5 separate regions of the Homo sapiens genome follow, and regions 1, 2, 3 and 5 are each linked to region 4. Evidence: promoter capture Hi-C in 16 types of primary human blood cells and fetal thymus (Javierre and others, 2016). All regions are on one chromosome and are shown on one strand. The core of a region is centred on a gene start or on the middle of the fragment in contact, and the rest is flanking DNA. Distances in the headings are between cores, read along the strand shown. Region 1 overlaps LRRIQ1 (leucine rich repeats and IQ motif containing 1). Region 2 has its middle 84 kb from the start of SLC6A15. Region 3 has its middle 63 kb from the start of SLC6A15. Region 4 holds the start of TMTC2 (transmembrane O-mannosyltransferase targeting cadherins 2). Region 5 holds the start of TSPAN19 (tetraspanin 19).

Region 1 (2,700 bases), core at 39-2,538, 2.4 Mb before region 4:
TTCATTGTAACTTGAGGAGTATCTTTATTTGCCTGGCAATGTGTAAAGAAGTATGAACAACACGAAGATCCGATTTATGTCTTGAAGTCTCAAAGTAAGAGATTAATGTAAGCAAAATGAATGCATTACTGGGAGACAATAAACTTTTCTAAGTTGATCTCCAGAAGGACATCCCAAGGATGGCAGTGAGTGATCAGGATAAGGATAAAGATCTGAAGCTAAAAGATCAGAAAGTCAAAAAGAAACTGAGCCATGGATCAGTAGTAACAGTGGTGAATAAAGACACCATGGTAAGCCATCTACCAAACAGAATCTTTACAGGAGTTGTCTGGTAACAAAAGATGATATTTTCTTAACATTTTAGCATCTATATGGCACATTCACATGTATTTTTCATCTTTATACTGCCTATTTGATGCTTCAAAGCTAAATTAAAAGCTTGAGATAGTTGCTTTAAGAAGGGATGAGAGGATTATGGTGCCCTTTAGAACACTGCTACTCAGATTAGTCCACTCACCAGCACCAACATCATCATTTAGAATCATTGCAAGAATGGAGAATGGGTGGATCACCAGACCTATTGAATCAGAATCCACATTTCTACAAAGCTTCAGGTATTCTATAGATTTTAATAGTTTGCCAGGCCTTGCTCTAAGAAGTAAAAGAAAGAGTTAATTATCATTTTATGTAAATTGACAAACGTTCGAAAGAAGGAACAGAGAGTCAGCTGGAGAAGAAATGCCAAGGAGAAAGAGGCTCACACATCTTAACTTCCTTCTCATTGGACAGAACAGAGACCTACAAAGCAAGGGAGGAACACTACTGTTTCTGTAACTTCATTTTCACTTTTGAAGCAAGTACACTGTAGGCATGAAGCCATCACTCTTGCCTAGCTTTAACAGATACTCATGAGGAAAACTAAATAATTGCTAATGTTATCATATTGGAAGGCCTGCAGCAATATGTTAGAGAAAGAAAAGTGCTAAAACATGATTCCAGAGATAACATGCGCAAGGAAAAAATTGGAGAAGAGCAGATGAGAGATTCTATATGTAGCTCTGCAGACCTGACAGATGTGGCAAATACATTACCCAGGAAATAAAAGACACTTAAAAGTGTATGTCCCAGTTCTCATCTCTTATATTGCTATTTCATATACCAGAAATATCTTCAAAATCCCACTATTTTATTATTCTCTCACAGGATACTCTGAAGCCTTATTTACAGCAATTCTCAAGATCCATAATAACGTATTTATGTGTGTTTAAGCTCCGTAAAAGACTGGGTTTTCTTTGTTTATTAGTCAACCAATAAATATTGATCATCTTATTGGATAGATGAATATTTGCTGAGTGAATAAACAAAATAATGTTTATCTATTAATATGATTGTTCTTTCTCCTAGGCATCTGTCTAGCAAGAAAGTCTATCAAGAAACTAAATAAACTTTATTGAATACTTTTGACTTTCAGGCCTTAGCTAAATATATGTATTTTAATCATAAGTGCTTTCTAGTGTTACACTGTTTAAAATATTATTTTCTCTTTTTCTATACGTTTATTAGTTTCTGTGTCTTAATTTTGGTTGAAACTATGTTCTCCATAACCATATAAAATTAGTAACATTTGATGACAACTATTTTACATTTCAGACATATATGCACCACCTTTAAATAGCACACGCTAAATAATTGTTGCTAGATGGGAATTCTAGGGTCTTCAGGGTCTTCTATCATGCAAGCCCTTCTTTCACAACAGTGGTCATGGACATAAAATCCACTTTATTCCAAAAGCAGCCACTAGGTGGTGTGGTGGCTCAAGTCTAAAGCAAACTTCTGTTTACTTAGGAGTTTCCTACTATAATTCTAACCCTAACTTTCTATATGCTTCCATTCTTAGAGGTTTAAATAATGACTGGAGGGCCCTTGAACACAGGCTTCAAGATATTAAAAAATATAAATCAAAGCTTTTTATAGAGTGTCACTTAGGGAAGATGCCTCGAACAATTTGTTGAGATATATCCCCTCCCAAATGGGGTAATATTTCATTCATAACTTTATTAAACAAGAGACAATTCTTGTATACAAAATATTTCTTTTTCTAAGATCTGAAAAGTTATACTTTAAAGAGCTAATTGTAATTAAATGTGAAAAATTATTATAAAATTAGAAATACCTGCTGTAAAGTATCCCAAGGGCCACATCGAAGAATTTCCAGTTTATCCAAAGCGGGTGTCATGTTGGCTGGGCATTTCACAGGTCTCTTTCTTCTAACAATTTTCTTTTGTTGATTTTGCTTGAAAATTTCAAGCCAAGGTTTAAATGATTTTATCCAGGCTAGTCTCCTTTCTTCAATAGAATATAGAAGGGTTGACTCTGATACACAGCAGGTCATGCTATCAGGTTCAGGTGCATTTTCATGGCATTTTTCTGAAATATTTCTAATCTCAGATTTAAGAGAGTTGACTTCTTTAGATACCATGGAGCTTTCTGCATTATAGTTACTCAAGCCCTCACAAGGAGCATGTCTACCTAACACATAATCTTGGTCATTTCTTTTGCCTTCTATATTTATCATGGTATCAGTTGTGTTAAAAATCACAATGCCACTATTCCAAGCATTGTCTTTTGGGTTCTCCTCAATTTCTTTGGATTTTGAATAAATTTCTTTTTCTTGTAATATTACGTTTTCTCTTACATCTT
Region 2 (2,700 bases), core at 197-2,696, 2.1 Mb before region 4:
AGAAGCAGAGAGAGAAAGAAAACAATATGAGAAAAAAATTACACAGTTTGCCAGACCCTAAAAAATACGCTCCTCTCCCAAATTTTCCCTATATTAATTTGAACATTTTCTAATTTTGAACATGTAGAAGATCCCACGTGTATTTACAAGCTAGGAGAGGGGATATATTAGTCCGCTCTCACACTGCAATGAAGAAATACCCAAGACTGTGTAATTTGTAAAGAAAAGAGCTTTAATTGCCTCACAGTTCTACATTGTTGGGAAGGCCTCAGGAAACATATACTTATGGTGGAAGGCAAAGAGAAGCAGGCACCTTCTTCACAGGGTGGCAGGACAGAGTGAGTGCAAGCAGGGGAAATGCCAAATGCATACAAAACCATCAGATCTCATGAGACTTACTCATTATCAGGAGAACAGCATGGGGCAAACTGACCCCAGGATCCAATTACCTCCACCTGGTCCCACCCTTGACACGTGGGGATTATGGGGATTACAATTCAGGATGAGATTTTGGGTAGGAACATAGTCAAACCATATCATTCCATCCCTGGCCTCTCCCAAATCTTGTGTCCTCACATTTTAAAACACAGTCATGGCTTTCCAACAGTCCTCCAGAGTCTTAACTCATTCCAGCATTAACCCAAAAGTCTAATTCCAAAGTCTCACCTGAGACAAGGCAAGTCCTGTCTGCCTTTGACCCTGTAAAATCAAAAGCAAGTTAGTTACTTTCAAGATACAATGGGGGTACAGGCATTGGGTAAATAAACCTGTTCCAAATAGAAGAAACTGGCCAAAACAAATGGGCTACAGGCGCCATGCAAGTCCCAAATCCAATAGGGCAGACATTAAGCCTTAAAGTTCCAAAATGATCTCCTTTGACACTAGGTCTCACATCCAGGTCATGCTGATGCAAGAGGTGGGCTCCCATGGCCTTGGACAACTCCGGCCCTGTGGCTTTGCAGGGTACAGCCCCTCTCCTAGATGCTTTCACAAGCTGGCACCAAGTGTCTGCAGCTTTTCCAGCCACATGGTGCAAGCTGTTGGTGGATCTACTGTTCTGAGAATGGGAGAATAGTGGCCCTCTTCTCACAGTTCCACTATGCAGTGTCCCAGTGGGTATTCTGTGTGGGGGCTACAACCTGATATATCCCTTCTGCACTACACTAGTAGAGGCTCTTCATGACAGCTCTGCCCCTGCAGCAAACTTCTGCCTGGACATGCAGGCATTTCCATACATCCCCTTAAATCTAGATGGAGGTTCCTAACCTCAATTCCTGACTTCTGTATATCTGCAGGCTCAACACTACATGGAAATTGCCAAGGCTTGGGACTTGCACCTTCGGAAGCAATAGCCCAGGCTGTACCTTGACCCCTTTTAGCCATGCTTGGAGGTGAAGCAGCTGGGACACAGGGGACCATGTCCCAAGGCTGCATAGAGCAGGATGCCCTGGGCCCAGCACACAAAACCATTTTTCCCTCCTAGGCCTCTGGGCCTGGATGGGAGGCACTGCCATGAAGGTATCTAACATGCCCTGGAGATGTTTTCCTCATTGTCTTGGTGATTAACATTTCTGCAGTGGGCTTGAATTTCTCCCCAGAATTTTTTTTCTATCACATCGTCATGCTGCAAATTTTCATAATTTGTATGCTCTGCTTCCTTTTGAACACTTTTCTGCTTAGAATTTCTTCTACCAGATACCCCAAATCATCTCTCTCAGGTTCAAAGTTACACAGATCCCTAGGGCAGGTGCTAAATGCCGCCAGTCTGTTTGCTAAAGTATAGCAAGAGTTCCCAACAAGTTACTCAACTCCATTTGAGACCACCTCAGCCTGGACTTCATTGCCCATATCAGTATTAGCATTTTGGTCAAAGCCATTCAACAAGTCTCTAGGAAGTTCCAAATTTTCCCAAATCTTTCTGTCTTCTGACCCCTACAGTGGTTTCAATCTCTACCTATTACCCAGTCCCAAAGTTGTTTCCACATTCTCAGGTAACTTATAGCAATGCCCCACTATCTCGGTACCAATTTACTGTATTAGTCCATTCGTATACTACTATGAAGAAATACCTGAGACTGGGTAATTTATAAAGGAAAGAGGTTTAATTGACTCACAGTTCCACATTGTTGGGGAGGCCTCAGGAAACTTAAAATCATGGTGGAAGGCAAAAAAGAAGCAGGCACCTTCTTCACAGGGTGGCAGGACAGAGTGAGTGCAAGAAGGGGAAATGCCAGACACTTATAAAACCATCAGATATTGTGAGAAACATTCATTTTCATGAGAACAGCATGGGGCAAACTGTCTCCATAATCCAGTTACCTCCACCTGGTCCTGCTCACAACATGTGGGGATTATGGAGTTTATGGGGATTACAATTCAAGATGAGATTTTGGGTAGGGACATAGCCAAACTATATCAGGAGAAAAGTTTAATTTCAAGACTTCTCCATAGAAACTTAAAAAAAAGTTTCAACAAAGAATTAACAAATAATTGTATTATTATGGTATCAAATTACACAGAATTATCATGAAGGATTTCTGGTCACATAAACTGTTTTACAAATTGTTTCCAGGCTATAAAATATGGGTGAGAAAGAAAACAGATTTACATAAGAAGTTCGATGAAGTGTTTCTGTTGGGAAGGAGATTATTTTATTTCCTTGATCTGCAATTACTTTCATCTAAGAAATAGATTTGAAAT
Region 3 (2,700 bases), core at 201-2,700, 2.2 Mb before region 4:
TGGTGGAAGGAAAGGAAGAGAAAATCACATCTTATGTGGATGGTGGCAGGCAAAAAGGAGAACTCGTACGGGGACACTCCCATTTTTAAAATCATAGATCTTGTGAGACTCGTTCACTATTGCAAGAATAGTGCAGGAAAGACCTGCCCCCGTAATTCAATCACCTCTCACTGGGTTACCCCCATGACATGTGGGAATTGTTGGCGTTACAATTCAAGATAAGATTTGGGTAGGGACACAGAAAAACCATATCAGCCACAAATATGTACACCTACAATATACCCATAATAATTAAAAATAAAAAATTAAAACATAAAAGAATGAAGGAGAAAATGTACTGAGTAAGGTATTAGAGTCATAATGAGATAGTCTAGTATATTGATACAGTGAGACCTTAGGACATAATTTCATGAAAATATATTTGCATTTTCATGTGTTTGTGTTTATGTGTATTTTTATGCAGAAGTTACTTCTTTTTAACAAATCATCAAATCAGTATGTGTTTCCAGTAAATTCAAGATCAATACATAGTGCTCCTTAACTATAATTATGTTTTCAATCACCTGTACACTTGTTAAAGCTATATTTCTGTGTTAGTCTATTCTCACACTGCTATGTAGAAATACCTGAGACTGGATAATTTATAAAGGAAAGAGGTATAATTACCTCATAGTTCCACAGGGCTGGGAAGGCCTCAGGAAACTTACAATCACGGCAGAAGGGGAAGCAAACACGTCCTTCTTCACATGGCAGCAGGAAAGAGAAGTGCTGAGTGAAGGGGGAAAATCCCTTATAAAACCATCATATCTCATGAGAACTCACTCACTGTCACAAGAACAGCATGAGGGAACCACCCCTGTGACCTAATTATCTCTCATGAGTTCCCTCCCCCAACACATGTGGAATACAATTTGGATTAGAATTCAAGATAAGATTCGGATGGAGACAAAGAGCCAAACCATATCAATTTCCAACCTACTAAATAAAAATTCTTCTGGGGTTGGAAGCAGGACAAGAGTATAGTTTTAAAACTTCACAGTTATTCTAATATATATTCTTGGTTAGGAATTATGGGTGCAAAGAAAATTTAAAAATGACAAGTAAAATATTGATTTTGATATCCTTTGGATGTGGTTTCTCCTTGACTAAAATGCATGTAGAAATTTTATCCGCAATGTGGCAGTATTGGAATATGGGGCCTGATGGGAGACGTTTGGGTCATGGGAGTGGACCACTCATGGATTGCTTGGTGGCTTTCTTGCAGAAGTGAGTTCTCTCTCTCATGAGACTGGATTAGTTCTTATAAGAATGGAATAGTGCCCATGAGATTGGGTTGTTATAAAGGGAAGTTCCTCCTGGTTGATCCCTTTTCACACGTCTTCTTCCCTTTTGACCTTCTACCATGTTGTGACCAGCACAAAAGCCCTCACCAGAAGCCAAGCAGATGCTGGCACCATGCTTCTTGAACTTCCCAGCCTGCAGAACCATGAGCTAATTAAACTCTTTTCTTCATAAATTACCTGGACTTTGGTATTCTGTTATAGCAACACAAAATGAAATAAGACAAATTATTATTGCCTTTTCTCAAACAGAATGAAAATGAAAGTGCTTAGTTGTAAATTTTTGAGCCATAAAGTTTTGACAAAAAGAGAAAACCTTAAAACTCTAGAAAACTATTGGAAATATTAAAACAAAACATTCCATAAGCTATCTATTACTGAGTATAGCATATTTTCACCTTCAAAATTTGGAACTGAAATAAAATGCTTCATATGTTATTTTGCCTCAAATGCTTAACTCCAAAGTTGGCTCATCCTCTAGCTATTATGACATGAAATTCTACCTAAAAGTTTGTCTTAAGAATACCTCTCATGTGGAGGTGAAAAGAAAAAAGGGACTAAACATTATCTTGTCCTAAATTAAATGCCCTTTGGATTTGGTTATTGCTTTAACACACCAAGATCATTTTTAGTACCACCATCAAAACATATGTACACACACTGTCACCACCAAAACCCAAAACACCTGAATTGTTTGAACAGCAAAAACGTGCCATGTGGTGCCTCTGCAATACCATATGTGGTGCTGCATAAATAAAAGAAACCATCTCCTGCAGATGAGTGGTGATATCCCAGCTGCTATTATTTTTCATCAATTGCCTTTTCAGGGTATATTCAGTTGCATAGTAAAGAAGATTAAAAAAAAACTAATTAGTAGAGATTGACATTTGTTTTTCTGAGAATAGAATTTTTTCAGGAACAGTCTAATATACTAGTTCCAAAAATTGGTTGTTTCAGTGTTTTTAAGGAATGTTTCATTATAAAAAGCAAAAAAAAGTAGAACATGAAACCCCAGCACACCTTGACCTGATAATATAGAGTAAATTTTAAAAATTTCAAGCACAATAACAATGTGGCAGCCATTCTATCTGCTCATCACTAGCATTTACACACATTAGTGCAAGGTCAATAGAATTAATAATGCAGACACCTGGCTTATATTTATTCCCTCCAGAGCACTCTCTGTCTCATCGGGGATATGCCTTTTTAAACCTCCATTTTAAAGATTTCAATTTGAGCAAATATTAAAAGGATTAATACTGGAACATATGAGCATTACAATAATGAAATTAATATCTTATAGAACTGAACAATGAAGATTGCCTGTCTGAGCAGAAGGGACCTGGATGTCCGAATCGCT
Region 4 (2,764 bases), core at 95-2,594:
GGCGGCGGGAGAGACCATCAGCAGCATTATTTTGGCTCAAAGTAAAAGTCTATACACGTTAAAAGGGAAAGTTAAAGCAGAGAACGATCTCCCTTTTCACAATTTTGGCAACTATCAAACGTGTGTTTTAACTTCGGGAAATAAAAGTGTCCCATCAATAAAAGGAAACGGGACAGGGAGGATCTATCAGGGATCGAGGAGAGGCTTCCTCCCAACCAGACGTAAAATCACTTAATGTGCTTTGTTGCATCAAGGAATACCTAAGACTTTAATTTAATACGTTCATTAAACAGTTTCCCAAATTGCCGGGATTTCCGCTAAGAAACTCAAGCGTCTGCCAACAGCCGAGAAGCAAGGGAGAGAACCTGCTGCAAACTAGGAGCGGAAACTCCCTCGGCCCGCCCAGCGCGCCTCACGTCCCCGGTGTTTGATTTAGGTGTTAATGTTTACGTGTCGCCTAAACCATCAGGTGCTGAACCAGTTCCTCCAAGACGCACTTTGAGCCTTAAAGAGGGAAGCTTCAGAGCCACTGCGGAGTGTGCCCCCTGCAGCCCGTCGCCCCCTCCTCTCGGCCCCTTACCTGTCATCATAGCAGAAATCCGCACTCAGGGTGTTGAGATACAAGGCGAGCCCCAGAGCGCTGCTCACCAACTCTGCAATCATCTCTCCACCGCCTTCCCTCCGGCTCGGCTCCCAGCGCGAGGGCAGCAGCGGCAACAAAAAACAGAAGCATCAATCTCCACCTTCCGCCGCCTTCTCCTCCCAGCTTCACTTTTCCCTCGCTTCCCCACCCTCCCTCCCTCGGGTCCTTCCAATCCACGACTCCTCTCCTCCTCCTCGCGCCCGTCTCCGCAGCTCCTGCGTCCTCCCCGGGTGCGGGCTCACACCACACTCCCCATGCCCGGCGCCCGCAAGCGGTGAGCGGCGTTTGGGCTCCGCGTCCCCCGGCGGAAGCGCAGGGCTGGTCTTTCGCGCGGGTCGCGATCCCCACCCTAACCCATGGCAGTTTGGGGCGTCCTAGGTGAGGAGTGGGACTCGGAGGAGGTGGAAGGGTGCGGGATGGGGGCAGAGGGACCGGACCAAGCCGGGCTCTGGGACCAGCTGGAGGAAGAGAGAGAAAGAGGCGCGGGTGGGAGGGACAAGGCGAACCGCCTCCCCTCGCCGCCTCCCGGGCGCACTGCTCCGGTGTCGCTCGGGCGGACTCCGGCCGCCAAGGCAGCTGCTGCACATTCAATGTTTATTAGCTCCCTCCCAGCCCCAGCCCCAGCCCCAGCCCCAGCTCCCTTCTCCAGTGAAGTGAGAAGCGGTGGCTGGAGACTCCAGAAGCTCCCGCGTGGGGTTCTCGACGCGGCCCCCCGCGCCTGCGTGACCAACCCTCCATCCCGGCTTGGCCCAGCCCCTTTCTCCACCCAGATCCTCCCGGAAGGCTCCTCCTACCCTGCCCCTCGGGCTGGAGGCTCCTCCCACCCTCCCCGGCCTGGAGGCTCCTCCTACCAGCCTCCCGTCCTCTTGTTTCTTTCACCTTCGATTTCACTCTGGAAAGCCCCCGGGACCCAAGGGCGACGGCTGGAAGACAGCCCAAAGGAGTAGATACAGTGCACCCTGGGAGGGGAAGCTGGGAGAAAGGAGGTCGAGGAGGAGGTGGTCGGTCGCCCCGCTGCTGCCTGGCAGCGCCTGGCACGGCTGAATCTCAGCCACAGCGCTGTGTGTGCCAAGAGCTGCCAGGCGTAAGTCCGGTCAGCTGGAGAGACTTCTGAGACCGGGAGAGGAAGAACAGGTTTGGCGACTGCTGCAGCTTCGGTTGTCACAAACTCACTGGCGATCTCTCACGCACACTGTGTGTGAGACTAAATGGGGGGGAGGAGGTAGTATTGGAGAGCTTGGAGGCAACTTAGGAAGGAGAGATTTCAGCTCTTAGCCTACGGTTGGCCACAATGTCAGTGGAAAGACGTGTAGGGAGAGAAACGTTTCCTCCTTCAGTAAGGTTAAAAAGAAAGGACCCCAAAAAGGGAAAGAAAGACACACACACACCCCGCAGCAACTGCCCGGGGACCCCTTCGTGGTTTCAGAGGGACTGTCGGGTTGACCCTGAGAACACAGGAGAGAAACCTCTAGTGCAAGCCGGTACAGCATTATACTTAAACCTAGTAAGGCAGTAAGCTAATGCCCTTTCCTTTCCGCTCGGAGGCAGGACTGGATGGAAAGCATCCAACATGGTGAAATATGGTGTAGAATGGTCTGTGTAGAACAAGCTCTGGGTACTAAAGTTGCAAGACCAAAGAGGACCCAGGGCTGCCTGACACGCCTCCTCCCGGCTTGTTGGCTTTCTGGCCAGGAGAGTAGCTCCGGTGCACCGCGATGTACACTACTGCAGCGCCCCCTGCTGCATAGTAACCACAAGGTGTGGAAGACAGGTCTGTTTTGCATGCGGGCCGACTGGTTCCAACCAAGAGCAGCACCTAACCAGCAAGCTCTCCGAAACTGTGGCAAGAAATTGAGCCCCCTGGGTGTCTAGCAGTGGCCTGGAAAGAAAATACCGTGGTCTGGGCTTCTGTAGAACAAAGCTACATATTTCCCTGATTTCACAAGGAAATCTGAGAAATCTGTATTGGATACACACAGATAAAATGATGAATATTTATTAATATTATACCTGTTATGCCATCCACAGTAGCACATTTTTTGTGCCCTGGACAAATATATGTAAACAAAAATAAAAGGAATTATGTCTTTACAGGTAGGGACTGATCTTTTACCCTTTTCC
Region 5 (2,700 bases), core at 115-2,614, 2.4 Mb before region 4:
TAATCCCAATTTTACGAAGATGTATAGGTGACTATATATATTCAATATAATTTATATTTATATAAATTGTTTATAACAATGCTGCTAAAAATGAGAAGTACATAAAAACATCCTGAGAAAAGTAATATTTCTCCTGAAAAGCCTACTCCTGTTAAAAGGCTCAAAAGTGCAATACTCACTGTATCACTATCATCACTCTGGGTTTCTGATTTTGCATCACTCTCAATGTCTTCTTTTTCCAAGGAGGAAATGCTGAGTTTATCCAATTCAGCTTCTATTTCTGCTTTGAGCTTTGCATCATCATCGTCCATTATTCTTCATAATAAAGCACAGAACTGCTTTAAAAAATGAAGAGGCTAATATGTCACTAAAAATTATGTGTTCTCTAATTTGTCATACCAATCCAACATATTTATTTAAATATGTTTTAATTTAACAAACTTTTATCACACCTTATTATGGTTACACCAAACATTGTTTTATCTCTTCAATCATTCTTTTTAAACTTTGACTACAAAATGATCAACTGTAATTGTACGCTAATACTCTTATTGATTTATATGTTTATATAATTTTACTATATATAATAAAGATCAGAATTGTTTATAAAATTTTTGTTTCAGTTATTAATACATATAAATGTAGGTATGTATGCATGAGTTGCAATGTAATATGTGTTGTTGTTAATGTTCTGTTTTTTATTTTTCACTGTTGGTCTTAGTCCCAAAAAAGGTTTGAAAACGTACTAGTCAGCTATCATTTTATTTTTCATGACACTAGTTTAAACCTTTCTTTCTTTACTCAAGGGCCTGACCTTTCCACCTGTCTTCTTGTTCTTTTCTTCATTCCTTCTTTCCATCCTCTTTCCCTTTCGTTAATTCCTCCTTTCACTCTACTCAATCATCTCAAAATCAGTTCTACCCATAACTTCCACCCTCACTCACTCACTCAAAAATAAAAAATAAAATAAAAAAAGGAAAAGAAAGAAAAGAAAAGAAAAACAAAGTGAAATGGAACTCCAGACAGAACCAGGGCAAAATATTATCCTGCAATGGAACTCAAAGTGCATTTAAAAAGCTTTATTAGAAGGAAAGCTAGATTTTTTTTTTATGCCTACAAAGCAAAATGCACGGGTATACTAAACTTTATATAGAAAGAGAGGCAGGAGAGTATGGTGGAGGTAAGAGTCATTTCCTTTACATGACTTTCTCTGTTCATCTACTGGCTCATTAGATCACCCCTGTCCAATTACATATTTGAGCACTTACGCAAGTTTAAATTTTCTATTAGCAACTTTTTAAAAACAAAAGAGAAGTGCAATTAATTTTTATAATATATTTTATTTAACCCAATATATCCAAAATATTTCAACGTGTAATAACAAAATTAATTATTAATATCATTGCAAAGAGTTTATATTCTTTCTTTGGACAGTAATTCTTAGAAATCTGTTGTGTGTTTTACACCTGCAGCACATCTCAGTTAGGATTAGCTGCATTTCAAGTCCTCAGTAGCCACCTGCAGTTAGTGGTTACTGTATATGACGTGCAGTCATGGATGGGTCTCACTGTAAATGGGCTACATTAAAGTGCTCTAAGTTGATAACGAATCACTTGGAGTTCACTAAAGCTGTCAAAAGTAGAAAAGCTTAAGGAACTCCCCCTTCAACCCCTGTAAAGAAAGGGGAGAGAAATCTACTTTATAAGGTTCATATAAATTATATATTACCAAAAAAAAAAGAAAGAAAGAGAGACAGAAAAAGAAAGGGTGGAAAGGAGGGCGACAAGAAGGGAAGGAAGGAAGGAAAATAACGTCAATTGGTTTGTGGGGAGCGGTGAGTGAGTAACCATCGAATGATCCCTACATAGCCAAGACATCTCTTTAAGTTTTGAATGAGTTCTCGAAATCTCCAGGGTGGAAGGGAGCCTCGAGCTTCGCAGAGTCGCACAGCCATCCCCTGACCCGCGGTCTCTCCCTTTGCTGGAAGTCTGGCCAGGCAGAGAGAGTCCCGGCTCGGCCTGAGCTCCCACAGCTGTTCACCTCCCTCAACGGGAATCCCAGTCTTAAGACCCCGGCTCACCCCTCAGCAGCGAGATTCCTTGGCTTTGTTGTAAGACAGCGCCCATAGCCGCTACACAAAGCGTATCCATGGCAACAGCCAATCACAAGGAAGAGACACCGGTTTTTCCCTACAGGTGCTCTAGAAGGACAAACAATCTCGATTCTAAATTGAAACGAACGCAGCATTTCAGGGACTGGATGAGGAGCTTACGGTTTTTTACAGGTAGATTTTAATATTTAAGTAACTTTGGAAAATACTTAATAAAATGAAATTTTGTTATAATTACCCAAGTAGATGTAATCTCACTTTTAAATTTTTTAAATTGTTTCTGAGCTACATATATTTATATTTCCATCTGGTGATTTGCCCATGTATAAGGTGTTCATTCCACAAACCCTTAATCCTGAACAGTGATTTGTGGGACATAGAAGTATGGAAGAGAAGTCAATAAGTTGTTTGCCTTCCATGACAACAGTTTTTTAAAAAAGAAAAGAAAAGAAAAAGGAAAAAAGAAAAAAATCATCAATCAATGCCCATCAAAAACCTCTAACTGAAGGGATGTGGGTGAGAAATTTGAAAAATTATTTTCTGGAGTTATTTTACTGTAAAAATATTGTCACACAGTATTTCAATATAAA

The links. Contacts are between HindIII fragments. The CHiCAGO score rates a contact against its expected background, and 5 or more counts as called.
Region 1: a contact is called between a fragment that was not itself captured here and the fragment with the promoter of TMTC2 in region 4, in 1 of 17 cell types (naive CD4 T cells). The highest score is 5.6, in naive CD4 T cells.
Region 2: a fragment that was not itself captured here is called in contact with the fragment with the promoter of TMTC2 in region 4 in 1 of 17 cell types (naive B cells); the score reaches 5.3 in naive B cells.
Region 3: a fragment that was not itself captured here is called in contact with the fragment with the promoter of TMTC2 in region 4 in 5 of 17 cell types (total CD4 T cells, naive B cells, naive CD8 T cells and 2 more); the score reaches 18.5 in total CD4 T cells.
Region 5: a fragment that was not itself captured here is called in contact with the fragment with the promoter of TMTC2 in region 4 in 1 of 17 cell types (naive B cells); the score reaches 8.7 in naive B cells.

Annotation. Positions count from the first base shown.
Region 1 is chr12:85,056,658-85,059,357 of GRCh38, reverse strand. LRRIQ1 (leucine rich repeats and IQ motif containing 1) reads right to left here. Exons shown (of 27, transcript NM_001079910.2): 8 at 2,174-2,700. Among named protein-coding and RNA genes, the nearest start is that of LRRIQ1, 22 kb to the right of the region's middle. The HindIII fragment of the contact is 1,356 bases long and covers 611-1,966 here.
Region 2 is chr12:84,827,417-84,830,116 of GRCh38, reverse strand. No RefSeq gene overlaps it. Among named protein-coding and RNA genes, the nearest start is that of SLC6A15, 84 kb to the left of the region's middle. The HindIII fragment of the contact is 3,650 bases long and covers 1-2,700 here.
Region 3 is chr12:84,848,915-84,851,614 of GRCh38, reverse strand. No RefSeq gene overlaps it. Among named protein-coding and RNA genes, the nearest start is that of SLC6A15, 63 kb to the left of the region's middle. The HindIII fragment of the contact is 9,785 bases long and covers 1-2,700 here.
Region 4 is chr12:82,685,486-82,688,249 of GRCh38, reverse strand. It overlaps TMTC2 (transmembrane O-mannosyltransferase targeting cadherins 2), which reads right to left and starts at 1,344. Exons shown (of 12, transcript NM_152588.3): 1 at 581-1,344. The coding sequence starts at 663. RefSeq lists silencers at 324-383, 744-793, 1,364-1,463, 2,314-2,393 and enhancers at 1,504-1,713, 1,734-1,883. The HindIII fragment of the contact is 3,615 bases long and covers 521-2,764 here.
Region 5 is chr12:85,035,788-85,038,487 of GRCh38, reverse strand. It overlaps TSPAN19 (tetraspanin 19), which reads left to right and starts at 2,211. Exons shown (of 9, transcript NM_001100917.2): 1 at 2,211-2,284. LRRIQ1 (leucine rich repeats and IQ motif containing 1) reads right to left here and starts at 2,137. Exons shown (of 27, transcript NM_001079910.2): 1 at 2,081-2,137; 2 at 180-335. The coding sequence starts at 311. The HindIII fragment of the contact is 570 bases long and covers 1,080-1,649 here.